2 separate regions of the Homo sapiens genome follow, and region 2 is linked to region 1. Evidence: promoter capture Hi-C in 16 types of primary human blood cells and fetal thymus (Javierre and others, 2016). All regions are on one chromosome and are shown on one strand. The core of a region is centred on a gene start or on the middle of the fragment in contact, and the rest is flanking DNA. Distances in the headings are between cores, read along the strand shown. Region 1 holds the start of GNAS (GNAS complex locus). Region 2 overlaps ZNF831 (zinc finger protein 831).

Region 1 (2,614 bases), core at 115-2,614:
CAAGAACCCGGCGCGGGAGGCGCTCCCCGAAAAGTTCCTAACAGACAAGGAGCGCAAGAAGCTCGAGAAGAAGCTGCTGGAGCAGAGGCGAAAGGAGGAGAAGAAGAAGGAGAAGGAGAGGAAGAAGATGGAGAAGATGCTGAAGAAGAAGAAGAAGAAGGTGCCAGAAGCCCAGGAGGAGGCCCGATGCCCCGAGGCCGCCGCCGCCGCGGCCGCCGCCGACGACGACGAGGGCGCCGAGGAGGGCGCCGTCGGGGGCGCCGAGGAGGGCGCCGCCGCCGGGGGCACGAGTAGGGCCTGGGCTGACTGGGACACGGACTCGAGCGACGAGGACGACGCCTACTACGCGGCGCCGCGCGTTGGGGGCATCGTGTGGCGGCCCGGGCCGCTCAAGGCTGGCGCGCTGAGCGCCCACCTGCCCCTCGTGGTGTTCCTGGTCTTCTCGGTGCGCAGCCCCTCGTGGGTGCTCAACTTCCTGCTGCAGAAGCGCACGGAGCAGGGCCGCGGCTGCGGCTTCGTGTTCGGGGCGACCTGCTGCTTCCGAGTGTTCCTGGGCTGCGCCTTCTTCTCCTACTTGGGCGGCCGCGCCAAGCGCAGAGGCCGCGGGCGCTCCGGGGCCAGAGGCGCCTTCGGCTCGGGCCATGGCGCCCGGCGCCGGGGGCGCGAGGAGCGGCTCATCTAGTCAGACCCCCCACCCCGCCACCGCCACCAGACACCACCATCGCTGTGTAGTGTGGGTTTTTATTCGTGTTCGTGTGTGTGTGTGGACACATTTTCCTTTTCGGTTGCTCTGTCCTTTGGTTCGTGCTCGCCTCGCTTTTTCCACACTCCTGCTCTCTGGCTCTCTGTGTCTCTCGCTCTTTCGAAAATTTTCCTAAGTCCGGGCGCGCGCTCCCTCCCCTTCCGCCCACCCCAGCCCCTCGGCGGCGCCCGCGGGAGGGGGAGGAGGCCTCGGGGGCGCCGGGCGACGCGGTCCGGGGGGTGGAGCGTTGGCGTCGTGCGAGGGGTCGTCACTGGCGCGGAGACGCCCCCTCTCCCCCCTCGGCTCAGCCGGGCTGCTGCCCGAGCCCGGGGGGTGGGGGGCGTCTCCCCGGCCCGTCCCGTCCCCGGCCGGGCGCGGGCGGAGGGACCCCCTCCCCGGGCTCCCGGGGGGCCGCCTCCCTCCGCCGGCTCCCGCCCTCCCAGCCGCCGCCGCCGCCGCGGCCGCTCCTCGGCCCTCCTCCTCCTCCTCCTCCTTCCACCCCCCTCGCCGCCGCCGCCTCCTCCTCCCCCCGCCTCCCCCCGCCCGCCGCGGCGCTTTTGGCTCGGGGCGGCGGCGGGGGCCCGGCCGAGGCAATAAGAGCGGCGGCGGCGGCAGCGGCGGCAGCAGCTCCCGCAGCTCCTGCTCTGGTCCGCCTCGGCCCGGCGGCGGCCATCAGCCCCCTCGGCCTCGGCTCGAGGGGCGGGGAGCTGCGCGCGCCCCTCGGTCCGACCGACACCCTCCCCTTCCCGCCCGTCCGCGCGCCCCGCGGCCCGCGGCCCGCAGTCCGCCCCGCGCGCTCCTTGCCGAGGAGCCGAGCCCGCGCCCGGCCCGCCCGCCCGGCGCTGCCCCGGCCCTCCCGGCCCGCGTGAGGCCGCCCGCGCCCGCCGCCGCCGCAGCCCGGCCGCGCCCCGCCGCCGCCGCCGCCGCCATGGGCTGCCTCGGGAACAGTAAGACCGAGGACCAGCGCAACGAGGAGAAGGCGCAGCGTGAGGCCAACAAAAAGATCGAGAAGCAGCTGCAGAAGGACAAGCAGGTCTACCGGGCCACGCACCGCCTGCTGCTGCTGGGTAAGGGCGGGCGGGGGGCGCCGGCCCCGGCCCGGGGGCCCTCGAAGGGCGCCCCGCAGGCCGCGCGCGCCGAGCCCGCCCCCCGCCCCGGGCGCGCGCTCCCGAGCCCCCCGCCCGTTCGCGGGCTCTGTCTGTGGGGGGCGAGGCCGGAAGGGGGACCCAGGGGCGCGGATTCGGCCGGGCGGGGGCTCAAAAACGGGGCGGGGGGCCGTGGCGACGCGGGCGCGGGTCCCCCTCCCCCGGCCTGCCCGCTCAGTGTCTCTCTCTTGCTCTCGCTCTCGCTCTCCCCCTCTTTCTCTCTTTCTCTCTTTTTCCGCGAGGCCTACACGACGCCAGGGGTTTGGGTGCGTGTTGGGGAGGGGGAGGGGGAGCCCATGGGGCTCCGGAGACTGCGACAAAAAGAGGGTTTCGGGGACAGGAAACCGGGTGGCGGGTAGAGGGAGGGGGACCCGCCTCCGTGGGGTGTGAGATTTGTTGGGAGAGGGAAAGAGGGGAAGAAAGGGGCGAGGAGAGGAGGGGGTGACGCTGGGGGGCGCCGTGGTGGCGGAGGGGGCCTCGCCAAAGGGAGGCTTTGGCGGGGAGAAGTGGCCGAGGAGAGTGGGGGGGCTGGTGACATCAGCCCCTCGGAAAGGATCGGAGCGGTAAAGGTGGTGCAGTGGGGGGGAGGGGGCGCAAGGGAGTCGTGGCGCCGGAGTCGGGAGGGGGGCGGCGAGGGGAGGAGGGAGGGCGGTTGCCGCTGGGCGCGACTTGGTGCGTTTCGGGCAGGACCGACTGACTGTGTGTGCGCGGAGCAGACGTGTCCCGG
Region 2 (6,557 bases), core at 736-3,235, 320 kb after region 1:
TTCTTTATTTTTTGGAGACACTTCCTGTCAATAACTTGGGAGGATGATGGAGAGAGAGTTTTTTAAAAAAATATTTTTAAAAAAGATGTTTAATTTCCCTCTCTCCTAAACTATTCCAAAAGCATGGTTCTAATCATTTGAATTAACAGATGGCTTGGCAGTGAAGTCATCTGTAAGCAGAAGGCCAGAGGAGTTATGAAGGATAAAGACCTACCGTGTAAGATTGTACATCGATTGGAGTCTGTGAGACTGCCCGGACAACTGAGTCTTTTTTCCCTAATCCTAAATCCGGTAGTCCATTCCATCCAAGTTTCCAGCTAGTGGGTGCAGGAAACTTGAAATTTCTTTTTAAATATCAACTAAGGTGTATTTCCCAGGCACCCCAGGCTGAGTGTGACTAAGAATGGACAGAAGTTTTGCCGTTTTAAAGAACATCCTTCCTCATTGCATTTGCTTTAGGATCAGGGCTGAGGGGTGCACTTAATCTCATAGACTGGGGCTGTCTCATTGAAGGGATTGGTAAGAAAGTTCTTAGATATCAAGTCATTGATGTACCAGGGAAAACAGGCATCTACCTTATAATCCAGATGTTCTTTATGGAGCACTCCAGTCATAAGGTTGGCTGGTTAGGTGGGAACATGAGAACTTTCCCTAATAGACTGACTGCTGGTAAATTTAGACCCCATTCAATTCTCTCTCTCCTTGCCTACCATCACATCCATCCATGCCCTTCAGATTAATTTTCGCAATATCATGGAAATTGATTGCTAAGTGAAATTGCAAATTGTGCTCAAGATGTTGCATTTTGTGAAACTGATAGAAAAGACCATTGGCAGCCTGCTGATTCACACCCATTGGCAGAATCAGACTAGGTGACAAATGAACAAGAGAAAAGTGACAAAGATGATAACTCTAGGAGAGTGACTTGAATATCAGAGGCTTAAGAGAAGTCTTTGGAAAGATTGATAAAGCTCTATAATATTTTTTTGGGGGTGGGAGTCCTTCTTGATGACCTAGCAATTAAAGTAAATGCGAGGTAAATAGTCCATTGGTCTACCCTACAATTTTATGTAAAAATGTATGTCCTCATCAATACTTGACTACGTTTTGTTGATTTTTAACAATTAGCTCATAGTTTGCCATTATAACCTCCAAAATGGAGGTTTATTTTTATTTTATCGTTGTGGGCATATTAGCTTATTTTCACAACTTTTGGTTTTGTCGTTTTTCCAGATAAATTCTCAAAGTCCTTAATACTATTCACTGTGAAATTGTGGTATTGCGAATTAATTGTGAATGAATTCATTTTAGGTGGCCTTTCCCCTGTAGCAATGATCTCAACTAAAGAAGACCTTGTTTACCAAGCTGCTAGGTCATCTCCTCCATGTTTGCATCCAGGGGCCTAGCAATGTAGCCGGTCCTCAATAAAGTTTGTTGAATGAACAATTTAACAAACATAAGTTTCTTTACCTTGAGGTTCCTGAAGCTTAGTTTCAGGTGAAAGCACCAGCAAAGACCAGCCCCCAAATCTTTGAGCATGAACAAGAGCGAGCATGCCACTTGGAGTCTTGGTTTCTGATTGTGCGTTGTGTCAAAAATGGAAAAATCCAGTGGGTTACCAGTGGGATGGCAGTGGAGTAACCGCAAAATTCAACTCTATGGAATCACCATTTTCAACCTTAGGGGTCATCTTATGTCACCTCCGTTTTATGGATGGAAGCTCTGGGGAGGTAAAAGTAGTAACCGAACTGCGAATGTCCTTTCCATGCCTTTTAACCTGACGTCCTCTCTCTCCCACACTACAGTGGGGCCATGTTGTAAAGGCTGGTGAGGTTTGTTTCCAAAGCTGGCCCCCAAGGCACAATCCCTATTGTCAAAATTATCTTTGAGAATCCTGCAAATCTATCATAAGGGTACGATTTGTTTATACAACTCTGAACAGAAATTCTCGTGCACAATATGCGTGAGGACTGCTGAGATGAAAGAAGGAAAGAAAAAAGGCCATCCATCCATGCAGGCAGCTTTGAAGATAAACAGCAAATCCTCCCACTGAAGAGAGGTTAGAAAAATTCCCACGTGTCCCTGCTTCACTGCATGGTGTGTGCCATTTGGTTTTAGCATTAAGCCTCTAAAACTGCTGTGACATCTTAATGGATTGAGTTGTTATGGTGAGGATTAAGCAAGATAGTGGAGTTGTGTCTTCTTGGGTCAGGGAAGGGTGAGCTTCAACAGTCAGGGTGTAGGTTAAATGCATGTGTGATGGGACTGTGCTGCCGTTTCATTTCTCACTTGGAATGCCTTTCTTACTCTAGCATAGGAACTGGGGGGCAGTTTTCCACTGGACAGCTACTCCATGTCATCTTGAGTCAGCTGGTGCCACTCAGTCAAAGACCGTCCCTTCTAGCCCAAGGAGAAATTCACAGCAAATCATGTCTTGAAAATGCTCTTCCCACTATTTTCCCAGTTAGAGTCTCACTTAGGAAGACAAGCTTCGCATGTATGTGTGTGTGTCTGCACATGTGCTCACATGCTCTTGTGTCAGTTTTCCATTAGAAAAAGCAATTGAAAATTACACATCCATATGAAGGGTGATGCCACCTAAGCAAAAGCTGCCGAAGATTCTCTGTTGTGGTTACACAATTTCTGATGAGGTCACTGATCTGAAATGATTATTATTCAGAATGTAGGGAGGTAGGGGGATGAAGGCAACGTCATTGATTTTGTTTGTATTTCAACTGGGACATCCTGTTCTCTGTGATCCTAATGCCCATCAACATACAGCCTTATTATCATTCTCCTAATATGACAGTTATTGACCCTTGGGCTGCAAAAAATAATCTCATAAATAGATTTTCCCTGTTTTTATATTTATCTGCACATCTCTTTCTAGCCGATGACATATCAGCTTTGTAAAAAATTATTATTATTGAAAACCTCTGTGCTAAAAGTTCCATTAACTGAGACCTGTTCTATTTACTCGAATGCTTGGGTACATTAAAACATTCCGTGGTATAAAGAGTGCTCTTATATATTTCCTTAGAAACACATTTTGCGGAACTGAATGGAGAACATTGATGTGGTTGAGGTTAATTATTTGGGCTTTTGCTGGGCACATTGGAAGTCGTGCCGCTTCTCCTGGTACACAGACTAAAATTGGAACAGTGAAGAGGAGCTGAGCATGGCCCTGTGCCCAGATGACACATCTGAAGTCTTATTGATTGAGGGAGATGTTTTATTGAACGATAAGAACTACATTGAGTTTATGGTTTTGCAATTTCCTGCAGCTGGCATGGTTTATAACAGTAAACACAGCAAGGTTCAGGGCTATATTTCCAATGGAGATTTTAGAAAACTCTCTCAATAACTAAACTCAGGAGGCACTTTCGATTTAGGAAGCTCATATGCATTTATTCCCTTGGACACACTTGTGATGAGTGACTTTTATCCTCTTTTGGCAGATGGAGAAACTGAGGCTTAGAGAGTTGTCCAGTGACTTGCCCAGAGGCACCCAGATGATTGATCTGGGGATCAGCACTGAGGCCTAAATTGAAATCATCTAGGTGCCACCTTCAGAACTTTTGTTGCATCTACATGTCACCTATGTGATTCTTTACTTATTTTTTCTCCTAGGTGCACTTACAAAAAAACTTAAGTCCAATTATTTCAAGAGAAGCTGTTTATCGATACTGAAAATGAAAAGTTAATATTATGTGCCATTAAGGGAACATGGCAAAAATATAAACCCTACAATGTTTTTGGTAAATAAGTTCTAGCCAGAATCTGTTGTGAGCTGAAGTCCATGAGCCCTAGGAATACCCCTTCTGCTAAAAAGAGATTTGGAAGTGTTAGGGAAGCATTCAAGATGCATTAGCACCTAGTCGAGACTTTCTTCTCTCCTTAATCAGAAGATTAAAAGAGAATAGAAGAGAGAACAGCTTCATCATTGTGCAATTCAGTTTTATTTAACTTTTTGCTTATCAATCACCTAAAATAACCACCAACCCCCACACCCTTCCCTGGGCCCCTCTCTTGGAGAGCCATACCCCCTTTTTTTCTGTCAGTAGGATCCTCATTGGCTTGCATTGTCTCATCTAGAATTTTCTCAATTTTTGTAAGGCTTTGACCTGTATGGATTTAAACCACTGAACCAATTCAGCAGAATTGACTGCAGAGGCCATGGGCAACATTCTGCAAAGACCCTCCTGGAAGAGCCTTCCCTTCTCTGCTTCACTGGGCTAGGGTGAGAGGCACTTGCCAAGAGTTTCGGAGGCAGCCTGAATCCCTGCATTTCTTATTGATTGATTGACTGAGATGGAGTTTCACTCTGTCGCCCAGGCTGGAGTGCAGTGGCGTGATCTCGGCTCACTGCAACCTCTGGCTCCCGGAAACCCTGCATTTCTAAGATTCTGGGACACTGATTGGGAGCCCATGGTGGGCATGCTGCCTGTGCCAGGAGGAAGTGGTACACACATGATAGAGAGATGGCCAGTGTGCCAGGGTGAGTGGGGGACAGGCACATGTGCAGTGGGGGCTCACAGGATGGAATGCGTGATAGACAGATGGCTAGTGTGCCAGGTGCATGGGGGACGGGCGCAGGTACAGTGGAGGCTCACAGGACAGGGCATCACCTGCAGGACTTCTCAGGCCTCAGTCGGGGCCTGAAATTTTTTTCCTGAGAACAACAGGATTATGCAGATAATCCCATTTAGGTTTTCTAAAGATCACTCTAGACACAGAGTGGAGCAAGAATTGGGGTAAATAGAGTGGGTATGAGGTGACTGATTAGAAGACCACTGACAGGTGGGGCACTTTTGTTCTTAAAAAAAAAAAACTTGGCAAAAGTGATGCTCCACCTAGAGGGGCAAAAAAGTTAATTATTAGTTTTTAATTACACGTGTAATCATGAATAATACTTAACACATAAAAATGCAATAGATAAGGCTGATGTTCAGTTTCACCACTACCCCATCCCAATACCATCCTCAGGTAAAATGACAGTTTGGAGTCTGGAGTACATCTGACAGATCTTCATCTCTGTGTGTGTGTGTGTGTGTGTGTGTGTGTGTGTAACACAGCAGCAGCACACTGCACATCTCATTGCACAACTTGCTCTTTTTACTCAAAAATGTTTTGTGGTTCCACACTGTGAAAACATGTAGCTCTGTCTCAACTTCCTGAGCAGGGACAGAGTCCCTCTGGGTGGGAATACTCTTATTTATGAAGCCATTCTCCTATTAACGAAGAGTTTGGTCATCACCAGTGTTTCACACTTGCATCATGCTCCTTGGACACACTGTTTATATCTCCTTAGCCCAGGCAGGGTTTGCTCTAGGGAATAACCAAGAAGAGAAATTGCTGGGTCTTTGAGTGTTGTGTTGCACATTTTTAATAGCCATTTTCAAATTGCTTCCCAGTTTATACCCCTACCAGTAGCATATTAAATACCTCTCTTTTCCTCCAGTTTATAAAACTTTTTCTTCTTTTCCCCTTGGATGAGTAAAAGATGCTACCTTCTATGCCTGTGGATGGGAGGGCCTTTCCAGCCCTCCTTGATTCTCACTAGGGGTCTGTTATCCATTCTGTCCGTGGAAGGCTGGCATTCTCTAGTAGAAAAAAAGAACATGGAGGGACGATAAGACTCGTTTATTTATTTATTTATTTTTTTAAATCACAGAGAAGTAAGTTTCTCTTGACCAGATGTTATGTCCACTGGGCACAATTTGATATTCTCACCAAATATTAATAGATGTGTTCCTCAGCAGAGGCACGATGGATCAGCCTGCTCTGGGGGGACTCTGTCACTGCAAAGGACATCAAGGCCTTCCTCTGTGCCCAGCCAATTCATTAGACCCAGTTAGCAATTTGCAAAAGAGATGAGTTGATCTGCAGGCTGCCAAGCCCCAGTGTTACTCAGCTACCTCCCAGAAAGCTCAGAGAAGCCCTGGCCTCCCAGGAGCCTGAGAGAGCAAATAGTAATATGTGAGGCTTTAGGCAGAGGCTGAGCAGAGTCATCATTCCTCATTATAAACAGAAGCCAGAGAGATGAATTTCTCAGCCCTTCCTGGGTTAGGGTGGGATTTGGGGCCATAGTCCAGACTCCCGGGATAAAATGAGAAGGCTCACAAAGCTGGGGCTCCCAATATGAGAGCAGTGTTTCTTTTTTCAAGCTTTTATTATTCCCAAACAGATTCCCTGGTTATCTTATTTTGAAATGTTGCTACTGGAGGCAGAACTTTAAACTCTGCATGCCTGTATTAGGAGGGACTCTTTGAGGTGTGAGGAAAAGAGGCTTGATTCAAATTGGCTTAGACAAACAAACAGAACCCAATTCATTATCTCACAGAACAGAGAGAATTGCTTCAAGCTCAGCTGGGTTCAGAGGCTCTGCAGGTGGGTGTGTTCGTCTCTCTCCATCTCTGGGCAGCTCTGGTCCTGCCCAGCTGTTCCATGCTTGTGTTAGCGTGACTGTTTTTTTTTTTTATATATATAACTGAGTCCCTAAACTCAATCTAACTGGCCTGGTTTGGTCATGTGGCTGTCCTTGACCCTGTCACTGG

The links. Contacts are between HindIII fragments. The CHiCAGO score rates a contact against its expected background, and 5 or more counts as called.
Region 2: a contact is called between a fragment that was not itself captured here and the fragment with the promoter of GNAS in region 1, in 13 of 17 cell types (total B cells, naive B cells, naive CD4 T cells and 10 more). The highest score is 14.4, in total B cells.

Annotation. Positions count from the first base shown.
Region 1 is chr20:58,890,057-58,892,670 of GRCh38, forward strand. It overlaps GNAS (GNAS complex locus), which reads left to right and starts at 1,365. Exons shown (of 13, transcript NM_000516.7): 1 at 1,365-1,809. The coding sequence starts at 1,671. RefSeq lists silencers at 623-772, 833-1,332, 1,343-1,562, 2,433-2,522. The HindIII fragment of the contact is 29,581 bases long and covers 1-2,614 here.
Region 2 is chr20:59,212,128-59,218,684 of GRCh38, forward strand. All of the region lies in intron 4 of ZNF831 (zinc finger protein 831), which reads left to right. Among named protein-coding and RNA genes, the nearest start is that of ZNF831, 52 kb to the left of the region's middle. The HindIII fragment of the contact is 1,003 bases long and covers 1,485-2,487 here.